3 separate regions of the Homo sapiens genome follow, and all the other regions are linked to region 2. The links are contacts of gene promoters, found by promoter capture Hi-C in human tissues and cell types (Jung and others, 2019). All regions are on one chromosome and are shown on one strand. The core of a region is centred on a gene start or on the middle of the fragment in contact, and the rest is flanking DNA. Distances in the headings are between cores, read along the strand shown. Region 1 overlaps IQCH (IQ motif containing H). Region 2 holds the start of CALML4 (calmodulin like 4). Region 3 overlaps C15orf61 (chromosome 15 open reading frame 61).

The links. Contacts are between HindIII fragments. The study calls those that stand out against the background at their distance.
Region 1: a fragment that was not itself captured here is called in contact with the fragment with the promoter of CALML4 in region 2 in 1 of the 25 tissues and cell types used here (lymphoblastoid cells).
Region 3: a contact is called between a fragment that was not itself captured here and the fragment with the promoter of CALML4 in region 2, in 2 of the 25 tissues and cell types used here (dorsolateral prefrontal cortex and lymphoblastoid cells).

The regions. Positions count from the first base shown.
Region 1 is chr15:67,456,456-67,459,908 of GRCh38, reverse strand. The region is part of intron 16 of IQCH (IQ motif containing H); the gene reads right to left. All of the region lies in intron 3 of IQCH-AS1 (IQCH antisense RNA 1), which reads left to right. Among named protein-coding and RNA genes, the nearest start is that of C15orf61, 63 kb to the left of the region's middle. RefSeq lists an enhancer at 2,664-2,958. The HindIII fragment of the contact is 5,129 bases long and covers 1-3,453 here.
Region 2 is chr15:68,203,579-68,207,212 of GRCh38, reverse strand. CALML4 (calmodulin like 4) reads left to right here and starts at 1,881. Exons shown (of 5, transcript NM_033429.3): 1 at 1,881-1,968; 2 at 2,062-2,092. The coding sequence starts at 1,966. CLN6 (CLN6 transmembrane ER protein) reads left to right here. Exons shown (of 7, transcript NM_017882.3): 7 at 1-221. RefSeq lists an enhancer at 888-1,182. The HindIII fragment of the contact is 22,474 bases long and covers 1-3,634 here.
Region 3 is chr15:67,525,656-67,529,561 of GRCh38, reverse strand. C15orf61 (chromosome 15 open reading frame 61) reads right to left here. Exons shown (of 2, transcript NM_001143936.2): 2 at 1-3,144. The coding sequence ends at 3,017. Among named protein-coding and RNA genes, the nearest start is that of IQCH-AS1, 5.8 kb to the right of the region's middle. The HindIII fragment of the contact is 3,545 bases long and covers 317-3,861 here.

The sequences.
Region 1 (3,453 bases), core at 130-2,629, 750 kb after region 2:
CCAAAAGTGTTGGGATTGCAGACCTGAGCTACTATGCCTGGCTGAATTCTATTTCTATTGGATTGGTTGTAAAGAAGTGCATTGTAGCCTGCAAAGGAGCAGGGCCAGTGGGGTGGAGAGGGCAGAAGTGCTACAGAGGCCCCTGCTCTCCACTGCCCTGACTGCTACTGTGCTGGATGCCGTGTGAACCACAGCTGCATCTGGAGGCCTTGGGCAGGTGAGAGCCAGCAGACAGGGCAGGAGTCAGGCAAAGGTCAGCTTGCCCAGATTGTTCTGGTCCAAGGATCTGGACCGCAAGCTTTGAGATGACAATGTAGCAACATGCTTCTGTGTGGGGAGGGGTGGGAGAGAAGCCTGGTCTTGAGCCCTTTTTGCCTGAGGTGTTCTCAGCAGATGGAGGCTGCCTGCTCACCCCTGCTGCTTCTGCCTCTTTCTGGTGACAGGCGGGATGAATGGGTGGCAGAGCACGCAGATGTGGGCAGATGTGCTCAGGCCCTACATTCTGTGCAAATAAAGTTCTCAGCAAAGGGTTTAGTGTTGCCTCTTGCCACCCTTCTCCTATGGGCATCAGGGCACGTATGGGACTCAGAGACTAATTTATAGATCAAATAACACTCACTGAAGAATCAGGATTTCAGAGCTTTATGAATCCAAAGATGCTCTGCAGACTCATCTCTAAGTTTTCTTATCGTCTTCTTCCTCTTTTTCTTTTTGTAAGAAGAACCAGAGATTTCAGACAGGATAAATGACCCACTAAAGGCCCCAGCTTTTGGTATCAGGGTCTGAGACAAATATCTGTGACCCAAAAGAAGTTGCCTCTCCGGGCCACACTTTCCTTAACTAATCACTCACTGGGGATAGTAGTCTGGGTGAATCCTCCCTCTGTTGCCTCCAGATGTATCTATGAGGCTAACAGGGAATTGTGTATATTTATCATATTGCCGAAAATTTTTAAAAAGACAGGCACTCCAAATAAGCCAACTCTGAGACATGCAGTACTGAGAATTCACCCACGCCAGAAATGGCATCCAGCCTTCAGGGTGAACTGTGATACACGGCCCATCATGCTCAGTAGCTGGTTGGCCAAAGGGATGTGTGAGTCACCTCTCTGCCCATGTTCACAGCATTCACAGCCCCAGTTCGACAGAAAATCCAGCATTGGACCACTTGATTTTTTCTAGAGTAAGACCAAGTGCTCGGTCACCTGCCCAGCTCCTCTGGTTGGTAGAGAATACAGCCATGGGTAGGCCATGGTTCCCTCTGTTTTACTGGTTTGGCTAGGTACAGAGCCAAGGGCTTATTTCCTTTTTACAGCTGTGGAGGCTGGGAATGCACTGGAGAGTGTTGAGTGGAGGAGTGATGTGAGCTAACTAATGTGACTCTAATTGCATTGACAAGAGGCCCTGAGGGGGCAAGGATGGAAACAGGGAGTCCAGTTAGGAAGACTTGCAGTAATTGAGGTGAGAGATGATGGTGGCTGGACCACACTGGTAACTGGAAGGTGGGAGAAGTGGTTGTATTATAGATATTTTTCAAAAGTAGAACTAAAAGGACTTATTGATGGATTGGATGTGCAGTATGAGAAAAAGGAGCCAAAGGTGTCTCCAAAACTTCCACCCTGAAGAAAATGGAAGAATAGCATTACCATTTCCCACTGGGGCAGAATGCCAGAGAAATACCTTGGAGGGTAAAATCAAGATTTCAGATCAGTTAAGTTTGAGATGCCTTTGTTACAGCATGTTATAGAGGGTGGGTTGAAATCTCAGGCACTTTTTCTCCTTTTGCAGCTGTAAAATCAGGAGGATGTGCATGGCTAGGCTCTAGGGATAAAACAGAATCAGTTCCTGGGAGGGAAGAAGCTTTTTCTCTGCTCTCACTTCTGGGCCTGGGGCTCAAGATTCTCCTGGATTGGTGAGAAGTGAGGTCTATAGGACCTGAGGCCTTCCCCAGGGGACAAGGCAGAGGCAGCTCAGTCCACTTCTCATCACGTTTAGGCTAAGATGCAGTAAGGTGGAGAAGGACAGGGGCAGCTTGGTAGGGGAAAAGTGACAACAGCTTGAGAGTAATGGGATTGGAGGGGACCGTGGCTTGGGAGAGGTGGATGGCTTTCTCAGGACAGAGAGTGCCCTGGACCAGAGTCACAGGACCTCGCTGGGAGTGCTGGCCTTGTGGTCTTAAGCAACTTCTTTCCCCTCTCTGGGCCTATTTCCTTGTCTATTAATATAGGCCTGATGGGATCTATCCCTGAGGGATATGTGTGGATTCAGTGGCTAAATGAGATAGTGTGTGAGACTATTACTACAGAGGCCTGGCAGACATAAATCTGTTTTGGGTCCTGACCACTTCTTCCCCATCTGACTGTTGGGAGCAGAGTTTGAGCAGGTGTAAGAATTCACTTGGTTCTTGACTTCTGTGTTCTTGCCTGCTTCTCAGAGACAGGGAGCACATTTAACTCTTTGCAGATGCTATTTAAATACAGGCCTCAGAATCCCAGCTATTATAAACAGAACACGTTTTCTTAGGCAGTTACTAAATGACATATTTTTTCCCCACTTGGATCACTGAATCTCCAGACAGCATGGAGCTCTCCATTGTGGTAAACAACACACCTCATGCTTAATTTTAAAGGAGTTGGTACACCCCACTGTAAGAATTTTCAATTAGTAAAATACTAATGTGATTATGGTATTTGGTAAGAGTTGTTTGCATAACATTAAAATGCAATAGGCCCTCTGCCTAAATCAATAGGCAGAGGGGAGAGCAGCCGCTTGGCTTGTTGCCACCTGGTGGCAGCTGTTGGGATAGCCCAGTCTCTTGGAGAAGTGAAGAACGGCAGTTGTCGCTGTACAGGGCAGTCACCCCGGTCAGCAATTGAGCCTCTTGGTTTTCAGCTTAGAGGCCTTCCCCTCTGTCTCTGTTAATCCTACTCATCTTTTTGGGCATGACTTAAATCACAGCTCCACGAAGCTATCTTTGAGCAACTAGAGCTTCCATCTCTGTACCAATCCCCTTGGACACTGCCTTCTATGGGGTGTTTGGAGTGGGTGGGGTAAGAGGCTGCAAACCATCTGTGCCCCACCACTTAGCACTCAGGGCCAGGCGTACCTAAGACTTCCGTGATTTTCAAAGGCCTTCAAAACTTTTGGATTCTGAAAAAAATCCAAAATCCATATTTGGGAGTTCCTGGCTCCCAAATATGAAAAGAAAACAGCAAAATAACAATGTTTTAAAAATATCAACCAAATAGAACATGTCGGTCAGATACAACACAATACTAATACAGTTATGTCTAAATCATATTCCATGATTATCCTCATGGAATAGATGAAATGGATTTTTAATACATTTGATACGATGTAGGATGGAATCTCTAAAACTAAAAATACTCAGGGCTTAGGGAGGTCTTAACCAGCACTGTCCTGGCTGACTGAGAATGACCTCCATCCTTCTCAT
Region 2 (3,634 bases), core at 632-3,131:
CAAGGTGCTGGGCCCAGAGGCTTTGCCTTGACAGAGTGGCCCAGGGTTTCAAGGGAGGAGGAACCTCCCCCTACCTAGGACCCTTCCTGTGGGGGGTCTACAGAGTCAGGGACAGAAGGGAAGGGACCCACAGGAAGTCACAGTGGTGCCCAGGGATGTGTCAGCCCCCAGCCACGGGGACGCGGGATTCAAGAATGAAGTAAATACAGTCACAGCCCCAAGTGGTGTTAGAGGTGTTTTTTGTCTTTTCTCCCTTTCGTGCTGAGGTGTAGCACACACGGTGCGCCCTACAGCATGGTGAGTTGCTGTATCGTGAACCCTCACGCAGCCATTGCCCCACGCTGGTGTTTTCCATCTGTGCGTCACCCCCGGAGACACCTACACACATAAGGAGGGAGTTGGCCGGGGCACCCCAGCACACACTGGCCTAACTCCAAGGAGGCACCTCATCTCTTCTGGAGCCCCTTCCCACAGGCAAGGGGATTCAGAGGGAGCATGTTGGCCTGGCCGCCTTCAGGCTTCCAGAGTCCCAAGTGACTTTCCTTGATGTCCTTCTCTCCATCCTCTGCACAGAGGCAGCCTTCCCTCCTCTTATCCCTGCCATGGGGTTTGGGAGGGGGAGCCTCAAACTCTGACAGGGAGGAGTCGGAGTCCCCAGCTAAAATTCTCTGGGTCTAGAAACAGGTGTAAAGCGATTCTGGGGATGTGATTTGGGAGAAAAGCACACTTTCCACACAGAGGCGGTCAGGAAAGGAGCGGGGAGGGGAGAGTGGGGCACAGGCAGCGCCTCCCGTCTATGCGCCTGTGTGCAAAGTGGCACAATGCCCCCCTTCCTATTGGCAGTGCAGCCCCTGGCCAGCAACCACTCGCACCTGGGCTGGGGGCCTTTGTGTAGGGCACACCTGTGCAGCCACACCTACTTGTAGAGCCTCATAGACTCAGCTGTGGACAAAAGCCTCACGCCCCAAACAGGGAAATGGGATCTCAAGGGGAAGAAGCTGGGGAGGCCTCACACCCTGCCCCCATTTCCTCCTATGTGGGGGAGGGGAGCAGCACGAACTCCTGAAGACTTGGGAGCGTCAGCAGCTTCTGCGGAAGGGGTGGGGCTGAGGGTGGAGAGAGGAAGGGAAGGAAGAAAAGGGGAGCCTTCCTGGCCAGGGTAACCGGCACTAAGAGGCCTCACTCCAAGCCCCCGAGGAGCCTGTGGTGGGGCTGGAGACCCGGCTCAGGCCCCTCCACCACCCTTAAAGTCCTCAGAAGGTGGGAACTGAACTGGCACAGGATGGGAACCGGCTGTGCGCTGGCCACTTGATTTTGCCAGCTGCCCTGTAATTCAGCTGGTGAGGAAACTGAGGCACAGACTGAGGTAGAATGATTCGCCAGTCACTCAGCAAGTCAGCAGACGGGGAGGACTGAATCCCAGCCTGAGAGCACCGAAGCTTGTATCCCTGCAATACCGAGCCCCAAGCCTGCGAGCCCCGGTGCCCATCTCTGAGTTAGGCCGTCTTGGAAGGGTTCCCTTCCTCCTACAAGATGGTGTGTGAGGAGCCTTCAATACGACCCGGGGTGTAAAGTGTCCAACTCTAGTAGGGGCCTGATGGCATCCCCGCCGAGTCCCAGGAGAGAGAGAGAAGACCCCTTCCTGGAGTCCAGGGCTCCCGGGAAGAAACACTGGCATTTGTCCCTTTGCTTCGGCTTCTGGAGGCAGAGACTCTGAGCCCAGGGAGAGCCTTCTGCAGCCCCATTTCCTCAAAAATCCAACCTGCCCAGGTGGCGGGTCATGAGCTGTGCTCAGGAAGCTGGAATCTGACCCTGGTGGCGTCGGGCCCAGTCTCCATGGCAGCCGAGCATTTATTACCCGGGCCTCCACCCAGCTTGGCAGACTTTAGACTTGAGGCTGGAGGAAAGGGAACTGAACGCGGTTCTGGGAGCAGCAAGCCCACGGGTAGCAGCCGAGGCCCCAGAATGGTGAGTGTGAGGGTCTGTGTCGGCCTGGCCAGGGCTGGGGGCGTGAACCTCAGGTGGAGCCCTCCCCTGACTGTTTTCCTTTCTCTGCTGCAGGCCAAGTTTCTTTCCCAAGACCAAATTAATGGTAGGTTGGGTTTGTTCTTTGATTAGCAACTCAGCAAAATATGGGTCTCATTAGGCAATTTGCTCTGCTCATGTTTTCTTGGTGGGAAGGAAGGTGGCTGTGGGAGAGCTGGGCCCACCCAGGGCCAAGAGCTGCGGGGAGGCTGCTGTTGGCGGGGTGGGGGTTGGGGGTAAGCCTCCAAAATAGACATGTGGCTTTATACTTGTCAGTGTGACTTACAAGCCAGGGCGCTAAGACAGAACTTACTAGGTTTCCCTCCAGAACCTGACCAGTTGGATTTGGGGACTGAGGGGACTGGGGATGGAGAGAGAGACCATTAAAGGTATGGCTGGCAGCAGGGAAAGAGGAGGGGCTTTGTAATTGAGACAGAACAGAGGCCAGGTCTGCACTCTCTGGCAGGATGCGTCTACTCTCTGCGCCTCAGTCTCCCTATCTGTAAAATGGAGGGTCCACTGAGCCCCCTTTGCCCTGGCATCAAGCCTGGTTTGGGCGTGAGCACTTTATTCCCTGGGTCCCCTACTCTGCCAGCCCTCGACCAGGCTTCAGTTTCACACCGTGCAGGGTTCTATTTCCAGAAGGCCAAGAGCAAAGAGTTGCGTTACAAAGAACTTGGGGGCCCAGACCTGAGCCAGGGGAGCCTCATGGCTGCAGCCCCCCTGCACCTGGCAGGAGAGGCCCAGGAGGCACAGCCAGCTGCTGCTTGAGGTTGTGACCCTGAAACCTGTCCCAACAGTGGACGTCAATGGGCCTGAGAGTCCCCCGAGGCATCCCATTCCTCCAGGTCTTTGCTGAAACATCGCCTTCTCAGTGAGTCCTTCGCTGACCACTGGAGATAAAATTACAGGCACCTTGGGCCCTTGTGATCCAGGGTAGGGTCCTGAGAGCCCAGCCAAGTGGGGTTAGGGTTACCTGGGCAGGAGTTCCAGAGTTCTGGGTATTCTGAGCTTGGTCCAGAGGGGCAGGAATTGTGAGCTCCAGGTGGGCACCTCCACGTAGAACCCTGGAACTCTTTATCCCAAGAGGAGGGCCAGGGCAGGAGCAGGGACTTTTAAAACACAGGGCCCGGGGCAGTGCCCTCTTGTCCAGGTCTAACGGTGATAATGAATGGTGGACTGAGGGCTGGAGTCCAGCCTTCAGCCTCAGCATCCTCCCACCCATGCCTGGTTTTGAGGCTCACTGACCCTCCCTCCTGGGATAGCCAAAGCTCCCAGAAGGGAAGAAGGTAAATTGTCTTTGTATCCCAGTATCTGACACCAAGAAAGTGGCCACCAGTGTTTAATGAGTGTGTGAAAGACTGGATGGGGTGGCCTAGCGAAGTGGGAAGAACAGGGGCTTTGGAGGCAGCAGACCTGAAGCCTAATCACCCTTGAGCCTCGGTTTTCTCACCTATGAAGTAGGATATGCCACCTTACCAGGCTGCTGCGAGCCACGGACAGAGGGGAATAATGTCAGTTACATGCTGGACGCTGGGCCAGGCATAGCCAGGTGTCACCCACATGTGGGCTGGGGCTGGCTCACTACAGCTAGCAAGAGCCATAGTTT
Region 3 (3,906 bases), core at 840-3,339, 680 kb after region 2:
TCCCAGCTACTCAGGAGGCTGAGACAGGAGAATCGCTTGGACCTGGGAGGTGGAGGTTGCAGTGAGCCAAGGTCGCACCATTGCACTCCAGCCTAGACAACAAGACTGAAACTCCTTCTCAAAAAGAAAAGTTTGAATTTTTACGGAAGTCAACGTTAGAAAAATATTAATGCCCCAAAATGTGTGGTAAACTATAACTGTTTCTACAATTTGGCATTTTAGGACATCAACACTAAGAAAATAGAGATTTTTGTATTAGCAGCCTCTCTCACGCTCCCAAATAGGTTACTGCATCTTTATAGTGGCTCACAACTTACACAGGAACTAAGAATTTTGCCTAGGAATTTGCCTAGAAATTTATTCCAATACGTGATAATTCATTTGTATAGAAATAACAATAGAAGAGATGCAAGGTTTTGTACTAAAAGTACACCTTTATTAAAACAGTTTTGGTTGGATTAAAGATAAAAATCCTGTCAAAGAAATATGACAGAAAAGCTAATCAGTGGTTTCACCAATTAAGAAAACTACTGATATGCAGAAGAGAAGGGCCTCTTCAGCTCCCCACATGCCACTTCAGGGTTAGTGGGCATGTGCTATCAATGCATCTCTCCTTCTTTCTCCATCACCTTATTTTTGAAATTTTTTAATTAATGAAGTCCTTTAAGTATAATGGAGCAGAAGAATGTGGATTATAAAAACAGAGCTTTTGCAGAGACAAAAGTAAAATTGATGTACATTTTCGGGTAGAAATGTCTCTTGTTTCGTTCTTCTCAGATTACAGGTGGAAAAACCAAGACACAAAGGAGGAGAGTTATTAGCCTGAGGTCAAAAAGTAAGACAGCACCAATACTAAAAATAGACTCAGTCTCCTGACTTACACATTTATACTTTCTCCCTTTCAGGCCATAATACTTTGGTGTAATATGCAGCTTTAAAGAAAAAACTTAAACCATTGCTGTTCAATGGGAAGTATTGTTTTCAGACTACAAGTTTACAAGACTTAATAAATCCAATGAATGATATTTAAATTTTTAAACCACGCCTTTACCCATTGTTGAGTTAGTTCATCCTTCACCATGATCAACTCCGTAAGAGCAAGAGGTCTATTGATTTTCATGTAATACAAGAAAATATTACATTTACTTGTTATACAGTGAGCACATCAGACAAGAAATCAAGGCCCTGTTTAATGCTGCAAGCAGCAGAGAATTACAGAGATCAATAGGGTAGTTTGTCAAAGATGTTCTCCAAGGACACTTACCTATCACATATGGGCAAGAAGTCACACTGACTATAGCTATTGAAAAACAGGTAAGCAGAGTCAGCAGTACAAATTATCAGAAATCAAACAGGCCAGTGTGAAAAGAGGTGCAACTCTACTGAAAAGCTGTATTTATAGTCTGGTAATTAAAGACCATTTTATCAGCCTTGTGTTGGGACCAAACCTTTACAGCCACTATTGACAAGACCAGCAGCAATGAATGAGCAGTATTTGACTTAAAACTTATGAGCTATAGTTATTTAACTTTGCCCATTACAGAGGAAATCAGTTCTAGCCTTCCCTGCAAAATGCTAATAGCCAGTTGTTTTATTATTAATGAAGCTTAATGTAACACTATCTCCTTTGTGTAAGCCATTCATTTAACTAGTGTCAAGTATATTCTTCTGGACTAAATATATTGGCATAAGTACTTCTTTGATTAAAGTGTTACTTAGAATTGCTTTTAGACAAGTGAACACCACATATATTTGAAGAACAGTTCACTCTGTAGATCATTTAAAATGACTACCTTTAACGAAGCTAGTTTGTATTACTTCATTATTCTGGTGCCTTCACCTCAGTCACTTCCACTCACTTTCTCTACTGACTTGACATAAGCATCCAAATGTTGAATTTTATAAAATGTTTTGCTACAAAAATGTGTAAGTGTTGCAGAGTATCAGCAACACATTAACATAAAATGATATATAATGTATGTTTGTAATTATGGGAGAGATCATAAATCTTAAACACCCATTGGTTTAGAAATTAAATAGTTCTACTTAGTTCTCCCTAAATTACTCCAAATGTCTGAAATTTACCATTCATCTGGGTATTTTGTGACTACCCCAAGGATACATTTTTTTAAATGACTTGGCTTTCAAAAATGCAATTAAGTTAATAAAATTCAAATGCAAAAGTGCCATTAGGTCTTTAAAATTTCAGCCCACTCCTTATTGCCAATAAGTCTATGGATATGTACCATTTCAGTTAATTGCTTTTATAAACAGTTACCAAATTTATTTTTCTGCATCTTTCTAGAAGATCTTAATTGTTCTTACAGCTTTATAGGAAAGCTGTTTTAACTTTTAATAAGTCTGAGTTTCATTCACCTTGCTACACTTATATTAACCAGTTATTATTACATTTTACAAACGATATGGTTTTGGACTCTTTAAGCAACAAGAAGTTTCAACATTACACTCCAACCCCTCCTCCAGGTAAATGGCACAAGGCCTTTAAAACGTTTCTATTTACAATCCTGGCAGCTGAATGGTTTAGACTTGAGATTACAATTAGATTCTCATCAATTTTGGATTTGCCAATGATGTAATATTTCCATCATACATCCTAATGTCTTCTACTTCTTTTTCCATTGTTACATAAAAGATTTTCCCCCCTTCTCTTTTGTGTGGGCATCTATATTTTCTCTTCAGAGTTGATTTAAATTGTTAATTAACTATAGAATCTATTACATTGTAATCATTTTTTATCTGTAGGTTAACCTAGTTCTAGGGAAAAAATGGTGTGAAGCTTCATGTGTTTGTAGTTCACATCAGCTAAACAGAGTATGTAATATATAACGATGTATAAAAAGCTTCACCTCTTGAGGGCAATGATTCATCTTAAAGAAGCAGATACTGTAGAAAGAAAAAAGTATTTGCAAAAGTTTTATTTTAAAGGATCAAAAATAAATACTGCACATATACACAGAGAAAATCCACTGATATTTATGTTCTTTGACGCACACTTTCAATACATGGCACCTTCATCTTCTTTATTGAGAAAATAAACTGTTATGGGTCCATAACTGGTATGCACAGTCTCTGTGACTCTGGCAAATAACCAGGAGCCAAGTCCATATAATAAAGTTGGAATACCTAGAAAACAAACGAATATGTATAAACATCAATGCTTATTAATCATGCAAGTTACTGATCACGTATAACACTCTTCAGCAATGTTAACAAATTACAATGTGATAAAATATAAAAATATTAATCAACATTGACTCTGATTATCTAAGAGCTCAATTTCATCAACGTGGCACATGATGGCAATCACGTGAGTCCAGAGGTTTTCATACTATAGACAAGGCGGGTATAAATGTTAATTCGAGTACTTCATAAATTCATTACCCTCAAATAATCATGAAGTAATGCTATATTCTTTTCATAAATAAGAAAATGGAGAAGAATACTCATTAATTTAGTTGTAGACGCTCCTGATTATTAGCCTTGAGCTAAAATTACTAAGTTAACACTACTGTTTGTTTGTTTGTTTGTGAGATGGAGTCTCACTCTGTTGGCAGGTTGGAGTGCAGTGGCGCGATCTCGGCTCGCTGCCACCTCCGCCTCCTGGGTTCAAGCGATTCTCCTGCCTCAGCCTCCTGAGTAGCTGGGACTACAGGCGCGCGCCACCACGCTCAGATAATTTTTGTACTTTTTTAGTAGAGATGGGGTTTCACCATGTTGGCCAGGATGGTCTCGATCTCTTGACCTTGTGATCCTGGGCCTAGGCCTCCGAAAGTGCTGGGATTACAGGTGTGAGCCACCGCGCCCGGCCAACATTACTGTTCTTTAAGTTAGTAGTAACACTAATGGTTGAAGTAATTTTTGTACAACTTAAAAGAAGCTCGGTCA